Regions from separate parts of the Homo sapiens genome. Here region 1 is linked to region 2. Evidence: promoter capture Hi-C in human tissues and cell types (Jung and others, 2019). All regions are on one chromosome and are shown on one strand. Each heading gives the region's core, a stretch centred on a gene start or on the middle of the fragment in contact. The rest is flanking DNA. Distances are from core to core; before and after follow the strand shown.

Region 1 (4,218 bases), core at 402-2,901, 1.1 Mb after region 2:
GAATCACGATGTTATAGACCCACCCCAGCAGATTCTCACCTTGTGTCTGCTTCCATTCTCAATCACCTCCATGGGTCACCGTTGCCAACTATACATTTTGCTGGTTTTTGAACTTAATTTTCATGGAATTCTTTAGTACCTGTATGATTGTGCCTGATTTCTTTCACTCAACATTATGATTATGAGATTCAGCCTTATTCATGCCACTGTATATAATTGTAGTTATTGCCCCTCCTGGGCTACGGTCCACATGTGGGGTCTTTTACTCCTTCCTTCACTTGACAAGCACCTGTGTATTAGTCCATTCTCACACTGCTACAAAAAATTAACTAAGACTGGGTAATTTATAAAGAAAAGAGTAATTGGCTCACCTCCTCTGCAGGCTGCACAGGAAGCATGATGCTGGCATCTACTTGGTGTCTGGGGAGGCCTCAGAAAACTTACAATCATCGGGGAAGGCAGAGGTGGAGCAGATACATCACATGGCTAGAGCAGGAGGAAGAGAGGGCGGCAGGAGGTGCCACACACTTTTGAAGACTGAGATCTTGTGAGAACTCACTCATTATCATGAGAATAGTACCAAGGGGATGGCACTAAATCATTCATGAGAAGTTCACCCCCCATGATCCAGTCACCTCCCACCGGGCCCTACCGCCAACATTGGAGATTACTATTTGACATGAAATTTGGGCAGGGACACAGATCCAAATCATATCAACCTACTAAGCATCCAGAAATTTAAGTAAAGTGAGTAACACTGGTGCTTACACTTTTGACCATCTAGTCTGTCTAAATTCTCTTCACTTTTTTTTGAGATGGAGTCTCGCTCTGTCACCCAGGCTGGAGTGCAGTAGCGCCATCTCGGCTCACTGCAACCTCCACCTCCAAGGTTCAAGCCATTCTCCCACCTCAGCCTCCCCAGTAGCTGGTATTACAGCTGCATGCCACCACACCCGGCTGATTTTTTGTACTTTTAGTAGAGACGGGGTCTTACCATGTTGACCAGGCTGGTCTCTAACTCCTGGTCTCGAGTGATCCGCCTGCCTTGGCCTCACAAAGTGTTGGGATTAAAGGCATGAGTCACCTTGCCTGGCAATTCTCTTCACTTTTAACCCAGTGGGGAAGCAATAGTAGTTGTCCACTGTATACCTGACACTGTGCCAGGTGTTAACACATACCATGTCTCACTTAATCCTTCCTCCAATCTAGCAATATATCATTATGTCTGTTTTTTAGGGAAGGAATCTGATATTTACAGAGAGGTTTCCATAGTTCGCATAAGACCTTATAGTTAGGTGACAGAGCAGATATTCAAACCTACATCTATCCATGTGCAAAGCTGGCTACAGCAGTCATGAAGATGCCCTGCTTCATATCCCCTGAACACACCTGAGTTTACCTGCAGCTTTGGTGGACTCATCTCATGCACACTAACAGTTTCTCTCTGCTCTGTGTCCAAGGGCTTTCTCTGACATGACAATCCTGCCCAGAAATGCCAGGCAATGAATGCCCCCAAAGGTAATCCTTAACCAATGTGGAAAGGAAGTTCTTGGATAAATACCCCCGCTTCTCTGACCTGCATTTGACATGGCTCTGCAGGGCATCTGCTGCAGCACAGAGGCCCAGTTGCCCACAGCATTAACCAGCTCAATGGGGCACCCAATGTGGATTTCTCTCATTTTCATTGCACTTTCTTCAGTCTGTCATGTGGCTTTCTGGAATCTCCTCACAAATAAAGAACCTGCACTAAAGTCCTTCTTCCTTGAGTTGCTTTCAAGGGAACCCAAATTAGAACACTTATTCTCTCTACAGTTCCTTGTACTGGGGTACCTAGTGCTTCTGAATAAAGCTGCATCCCAGATAACGCCCCAGTGAGGAGTTGTACAAGCCTGGGCTTTTCCTCCCTGCCATAGAATGCCTAGCCTACAGCATTCCATGGCCCCTTGGAGGCGGAAAACTGACAAGACAACCAGGTATCTTTTCTCTAAATGTCTAAAGAGGGAGGAGAAAGAGGTGTCATTTTGGTGTGTGGGTGGCAAAGGGACAAAGCAGATCAAGCTGGAGGGACTCACAAAGCAGGAGGAGTCATTAGAGGTCACAAGTTTGGATGCAGGGGTGTGAATAGGATTTCTAGCTAAGAGAACAAGCTTTGGCTCTAGAGAGACCTGGCTTCAAAACCTGATTCCTCCACTTAAACTATAGCTTTGTGACCTTCACTGAGTGGCTTGTCCTCCATACTTCAGTGTCCTTGTGCCATATGCTGTTGTGTCAAACTCCTGTTAACCTCAATAGCAAAGGGGACCCCATTCAAGAGGCCAGAGAAGAGACCCAGAGCCAGAAAATGAGACATGGGGTTTTATTAGGGGGCTCACATACAGGGGAGAGGGTCCAGTGGCAGGAAAACCGCAATTGCTTGCAAATAGCATGCAGTTTATGTAGCATTTTCACATAGCACCTTCCCCCTAATGACATCCAGCTGGCAACCTTCATTTAACCCAAAACTCAGGACCTCAGTGCCCTAGGCAGCTTGTGTTCCACAGAAGAGCCCAGGGGCTCTGATATTTGTCATTGACAAGGAACTAATCAGGTTGGCCACTCCCGGATGCCCTAGCTTGGAACACACATTCAGGTGCATCTGCCATACAGGGTTATTCTAAGGATGTGTTTAAGTTATTGCTATCAGGTGTGTTTACCCTGATATCAATAATTTGTGGTGTGGTGATCATAATTCTGCCAATCTTATAGGATTTTTTAGCGGATTAAATTTGAAAATATATGTAAAGCTCTTAACACAACTGTCAGGAAGTAAAGCTTTTTTTATGACGTTAGCAATGTGAATGTAGCAGTGAAGATGTGGGTTCTGTAGCTAGACGGCCTGGGTTCAGAGGCACAGCTTTTCTACCTCCTGGCTCAAGACTCAGTTTCCACACCTGTAAAATGGGGATAATAGTGCAAATCTCATACGGTTGTTATGGAGATTATATACAGACAGAGAGGGAGAGCAGGCACTTCAAAGGGTGTGTATAGCAGCACAGCATAAGCACTCTAATGTTATCTGTAAATCTAGAAAAATAACTTGAATCCATAAGCTATCTGGAGTCAGGAAAGCCCTATCATGGGTGAGGATGTACACAGTTTTGCTTAACTAACGTACCAGTTGGGGTATTAGCTCATCAAGAAGAACAATATGGAAAGACAGTCTTAAATGTTTTTCTCAGGCAGAAGCTGTATGTGAGCTGGGGATCAGCCAGGGAGAGGCAGAAACCTTTGGGTGCCAGGAGGAGCTGATTCTCTGATATAAATAGGGCAGAACTTGGAGTCTTCAGGGAATGAGGTGGAATGAATGGAAGGGATTCACAGAAGCGGGAAGAAGAAAACAGAGAAGGTGGAGTTGACACAGATAAAGAAAATGGATGGCTACCTCCTCTCTTCCAGGTAAAGCTTGCTGCTGCCAATGTGTTCTCCCTCCCCAACTAGAAACACTTCCCAGGAAAGGCCAAAAGTGCTTGCATTACTTCCTGAGAGCTCCATCTACCCAGAAAGTCACTGTGTCATTGGCAGGTAGCTTGTAGGCCATTTGGCCATTTTCTACACCGGAGGCGTCTATAATCTTTCCCCTCCAGGGCACCATTCCTTCCAGCTTGCTGCACTTTGTGATGCTTCCGTGTTGAAAGTAGTCCCTCCCACCTTCCTGGGTTCTTTGCTAAGATAAAATGAGGCAAAATAAATCAACTTGGCTTTCACATCAAAGCCACCTCTGTCTAAACCATCTGTGACTTAGAGGAATTAGAACTGAAATTCGTGAGTGATGACATCTTTGTTTTGTTTGCTTGCTTTTTGGTTTTTGTTTTGTTATTTTCTAGTTAGAGTAGATTGAATAAATGGATAGTTTTGCCTGCTAAAGCTCTGTTACATGTACAGTTCAGGCAAGATGGGGAATATCCTTGGATTCAGTTCTAATTATTCCCTCAGAGGAAACCGAACTTTGATTGATGAAGAGGATCCTTTCTGTGTTCAGCTCAGATGCTGTGGTCACGTTTGACTGATTTGGAGCAGCTCTGAATCTCAGCTCTGTCAAATATTGCATGTAAACCAAGCTTCTTACTAGCTACTAATCTAGCATGGAAAAGTCCTGCAGTGCAAAATGATGAGAATAGAATGATCTGCAAAAAGAACTTTTAGATTCTCAGAAACTGACTGACGAATCAGCCTGAAGCA
Region 2 (4,531 bases), core at 1,286-3,785:
GTGCTATGTGACATAAAAATTTTGTGTTTATCAGTGATTTGACATTCTTGTTAGGTGTAATCAGGTAGTTTTCACCTCTCAGAGTTTATATTTTCTTTCCTATCAGTCAAATGGGCTAAATTCACTGGTGGACTGGAGGTGACACCAGCTTGCATGTGGCCCAGATTGCAACTGGTGGCACCTGCAATCTCAGGTAGCCCTTCTAGGTGAAGCCAGGTGGAGATCTAAACACTTTAACTAAAGGTCTGGCTCCGCAGCCTCTTTCCTGAGAGCTGTGGGGGGCACAAGGCACAGAATTAAAACAGGGTCCGACATAGGGAACTCCAAGGAGTGTGCTCTTTAAGATCACACCAGCCTTTTTCAGCACCATTTTGCCTTTTTTTTTTTTTTTTTTTTTTTTGAGATGGAGTCTCGCTCTGTCGCCAGGCTGGAGTGCAGTGGCATGATCTCAGCTCACTGCAACCTCCGCCTCCCAGGTTGAAGCTATTCTCCTCTCTCAGCCTCCCGAGTAGCTGGGACTACAGGTATGTGCCACCACGCCCAGCTAATTTTTGTATTTGTAGTAGAGACCGGGTTTCACCATGTTGACCAGGATGGTCTCAATCTCTTGACCTCGTGATCCACCCGCCTCGGCCTCCCAGAGTGCTGGGATTGCAGGCGTGACCCACAGCTCGCGGCCCATTTTACTTTTAAACCGTTATTTAGCACCCAAACTCAGGGATACTTGGGAGTAGAAATTAGAACGGGACAGATAAGTGGGGAGACTGGTGTTGATGGAAACCTCAGTGAGAAAAGTGTAGATGGGATTACAGTTGACAACTGGTTGCCTTGATTTAGGATAATTGGGGAAAGGGAGGCTGGGGCACATTGAAACACCCAGGTTGTCGCTGCCTACCCCAGCTGCTAACATGACCAGCTGTAAACTTGCTCTGTTCTTAGAAACCTCCCTTCCAAAACATGGATTCTCCCGCCAGTGCTCAAGATGGGACACATTACCACTAAGTAAGCACTTTTCTTAGGAGCATTTCTTAGGCTGTTAAAATGCCAAGACTCCTAACCATCCTTGGTAGCTTTGAACCTATGTAAAGAGGTCAGTTAGCTGCCCTAGTTTATTCCTCAGAATGATGAGATTTGGCACTGAAAATATTGTTCATACTGAGCCTCCCATCAAATGCAATAAGTAGATAACCACAAATACCCACCCTTTTATGCTCATAACTCAGCATGTTGGAAACTATTTTCCCTTGACCTATTGCCAGCCCATCACGCCCCACACCCAGGAGAACTCAAGCCCCAAACCGGCCGCTGAATAGTCACGCTTTTCTGCAGGACATACCTACTATTAGGGCCAAAACTTTGTCCACCCTTCAAAGGAAGTCGATGTTTCCATATAAAGGTCCCCTCAAATGCAACAGCAAGCCCGTGGGAGAGGGGTTAGCAGAGGCTACGGCCAGCCCACGGGCTTTCTTCGACCTTGATTATGACCAGGAGTGTAGCTGTTAATTGCGAGGCTTGCCTCAAGGTGGAAAACAGTATCGGTTTCCACTGCCACCCCAGAGAAGGCAAGTTCCGCGGCTGGCGGTGCTGGGGACACGGTCCCTCCCAGGCCCATCTCTTGCCACCCAGAGAGCTGCTCGGAGGCCGCCTACAGGTGCAATCCCGGCACTGCGGCCGGGGCGTCGGGCCGGGGAGGGCGTCCAAGCCCACCAGCATCTCCGCCGGCCCTTCCCAAAGCCTGAACAGGGCCCCGGCGTGCCCGCCGCCTTCTACCCCCGGTTTCCCCGCGCCTCTGCCCCGGCGCGGTTTGGATAGGAAGCTGGGAGCCCTCCCAGGCTCCGCAGACTCGGATTTGGGAGGGGGTGGGACGCGGCCGAGGCTTCCCCTCGAATCTGCGGCAAGCCTGGCTCCAGGAAAGTTTTTCAAAGTTCCCAGCAGCGTCTGCCCAGGTCGCCTCCGCGGGGCGAGCAGACGGCGGCAAGCGCGCCAGCCTCGCCGCCGCCTCTGCCGCCAGCAGAGCGCTCTGGGCGGCTCGCTCGCGGGAAGCGGGCCGAACTCCCGGCGGGCAGGCAGGCCCTCCTCCCGGGGCGAAAGCCGCAGCTGACGCAGGCGGTTCGGAAGGCGGAAGCTGCCCCGCTCCGACCGCTCAGTCAGCGCCGCGGCGCCTACACCTGGGGCCCCGACGCGCGGGCAAAGGCGCACGGCCCGGGGCGCCCGAGGGGGCGGTCCCCGCTGGGGGCCTCCAGGCGTCCCTGAGCAACGATCCCTTCCAAGTACCTCCCCGCACTCTCCCTTCCCTCCTGGCCCGAAGCTCCCGAGGGCGGGGGTTGGTGTGGGGCCCTGGTTCTTCTACGCCGCCCTGAGCATCCCGCTGCCCCCAACCCCTTCCAAGTTCCTCCTCGCACTACCCCCTCCCCAGCAACGTGAAGGGGAGGGGCGTGCCCAGGGTGAGCACGCCCTCTCATGAATATTAATAAGCGCGCATGCGCCCTGCCCGGCGTGCTGGGTAGAGGTGGCCAGCCCCGGCCGCTGCTGCCAGACGGGCTCTCCGGGTCCTTCTCCGAGAGCCGGGCGGGCACGCGTCATTGTGTTACCTGCGGCCGGCCCGCGAGCTAGGCTGGTTTTTTTTTTTCTCCCCTCCCTCCCCCCTTTTTCCATGCAGCTGATCTAAAAGGGAATAAAAGGCTGCGCATAATCATAATAATAAAAGAAGGGGAGCGCGAGAGAAGGAAAGAAAGCCGGGAGGTGGAAGAGGAGGGGGAGCGTCTCAAAGAAGCGATCAGAATAATAAAAGGAGGCCGGGCTCTTTGCCTTCTGGAACGGGCCGCTCTTGAAAGGGCTTTTGAAAAGTGGTGTTGTTTTCCAGTCGTGCATGCTCCAATCGGCGGAGTATATTAGAGCCGGGACGCGGCGGCCGCAGGGGCAGCGGCGACGGCAGCACCGGCGGCAGCACCAGCGCGAACAGCAGCGGCGGCGTCCCGAGTGCCCGCGGCGCGCGGCGCAGCGATGCGTTCCCCACGGACGCGCGGCCGGTCCGGGCGCCCCCTAAGCCTCCTGCTCGCCCTGCTCTGTGCCCTGCGAGCCAAGGTAGGAGCCCTTCTCCGGGCCTCCCTCCCAGCCGTCCTCTCCCTCCCCTCGCGGCGCCCTGGGCGGTTGAGCCCCGCGAGCAGGCTCGGCAGCCCTCGAGCGCCCGACTCCTCGCCCCTGCGCCCGAGCGGCTGCACCTGGGCTGAGCGCGCCAACTCCCCCACGGGAGCCCCTGCCTCCTGAGGGTGACCCCTCCAGGCCGGACAGGGGCGCGTTCGCTCCGCTGTTGCCCCCCGGGAAGTCGTCGGATTTCTTCCGCACTCGTGCATTTTTTTTTTTTTTTGCCCCGGAATCATGTTGAGTCCTTGAACGTAGTTTCGCAAAATTATTTTCACTCGGCGAGGAGGGCTCGTCGGGGCGGGGAGTGGGAGGGAGTCGCCACCTCTATACTCGAAGAAAACAGCTTTCTCCCGCGCTGACCTACCTCCTTCCCTCGCCGGCAGGTGTGTGGGGCCTCGGGTCAGTTCGAGTTGGAGATCCTGTCCATGCAGAACGTGAACGGGGAGCTGCAGAACGGGAACTGCTGCGGCGGCGCCCGGAACCCGGGAGACCGCAAGTGCACCCGCGACGAGTGTGACACATACTTCAAAGTGTGCCTCAAGGAGTATCAGTCCCGCGTCACGGCCGGGGGGCCCTGCAGCTTCGGCTCAGGGTCCACGCCTGTCATCGGGGGCAACACCTTCAACCTCAAGGCCAGCCGCGGCAACGACCGCAACCGCATCGTGCTGCCTTTCAGTTTCGCCTGGCCGGTGAGTGACTACTCGGGAAGGAGGCCGGGCGGAGCCTCACACCCGCGCCTGGCCGAGCCCTGTTATCCCTTGCGAGAGGGATTTAAAGGGCTTTGGCTTGAAACTAGGCGCTAACTGGGGAAATCTCTAGGGGTGGCGGGTGAGGGAGCCGGGACACTATAGTTAGATCTCGGCTGGGGTAGTCGAGGTGGGTCCCATTCCTGCTGCTATTTGCTTAGTGCACAAAAGTGGGGATCCCAGAGGGTTTATGGGACCAGGCTCCTAGGAAGGCCGGTGTAAACTTGCAACTTGAAGTTCCCAGAGTAACTCTCCCGGCCCCAAGCCAAGAGATCGTTGTAGCTGATCTCTTTGCTTAACTAATTAAACCTGGTGCGCCGTGGAAGGCGACTCGGCGCAGTTCTGGCCTGCGAACGCCGTCCAAATTGGCAACCTCCCCTTTCCCGTGAACGGCCGGGAGGGCGGGTGTGTCCTTCCTGGAGGGTGTGGGGGAGTCCGTTTCCCGCTGCTCCCCGGGAGATTTTAGTGTGTGCGGGGGCGCTCTCCAGGTTCGGCTTAAGGGCCGGGGGCGGCCGCCGCAGGAGGAGGTTCTTGGGGCCCTCACAGGAGCTGTAGACCTGGGAACCCCCGCCCGCTGCTGGCCCCTTCCTGCCCCCGCCCCCGAGTGGTGTAGCTCTTGTGGCCTCACTTCCAGCGGTTCC

Evidence for each region. The method cuts DNA at HindIII sites, captures the fragments that hold promoters and counts their contacts. A contact is called where the count stands out against the background at its distance.
Region 1: a contact is called between a fragment that was not itself captured here and the fragment with the promoter of JAG1 in region 2, in 1 of the 25 tissues and cell types used here (dorsolateral prefrontal cortex).

Annotation. Positions count from the first base shown.
Region 1 is chr20:9,602,524-9,606,741 of GRCh38, reverse strand. The region is part of intron 3 of PAK5 (p21 (RAC1) activated kinase 5); the gene reads left to right. The region is part of intron 2 of LOC105372523 (a long non-coding RNA gene); the gene reads right to left. Among named protein-coding and RNA genes, the nearest start is that of LAMP5-AS1, 90 kb to the right of the region's middle. The HindIII fragment of the contact is 7,595 bases long and covers 1-4,218 here.
Region 2 is chr20:10,672,003-10,676,533 of GRCh38, reverse strand. JAG1 (jagged canonical Notch ligand 1) reads left to right here and starts at 2,535. Exons shown (of 26, transcript NM_000214.3): 1 at 2,535-3,084; 2 at 3,528-3,833. The coding sequence starts at 3,004. RefSeq lists a silencer at 1,913-2,312. The HindIII fragment of the contact is 9,344 bases long and covers 1-4,531 here.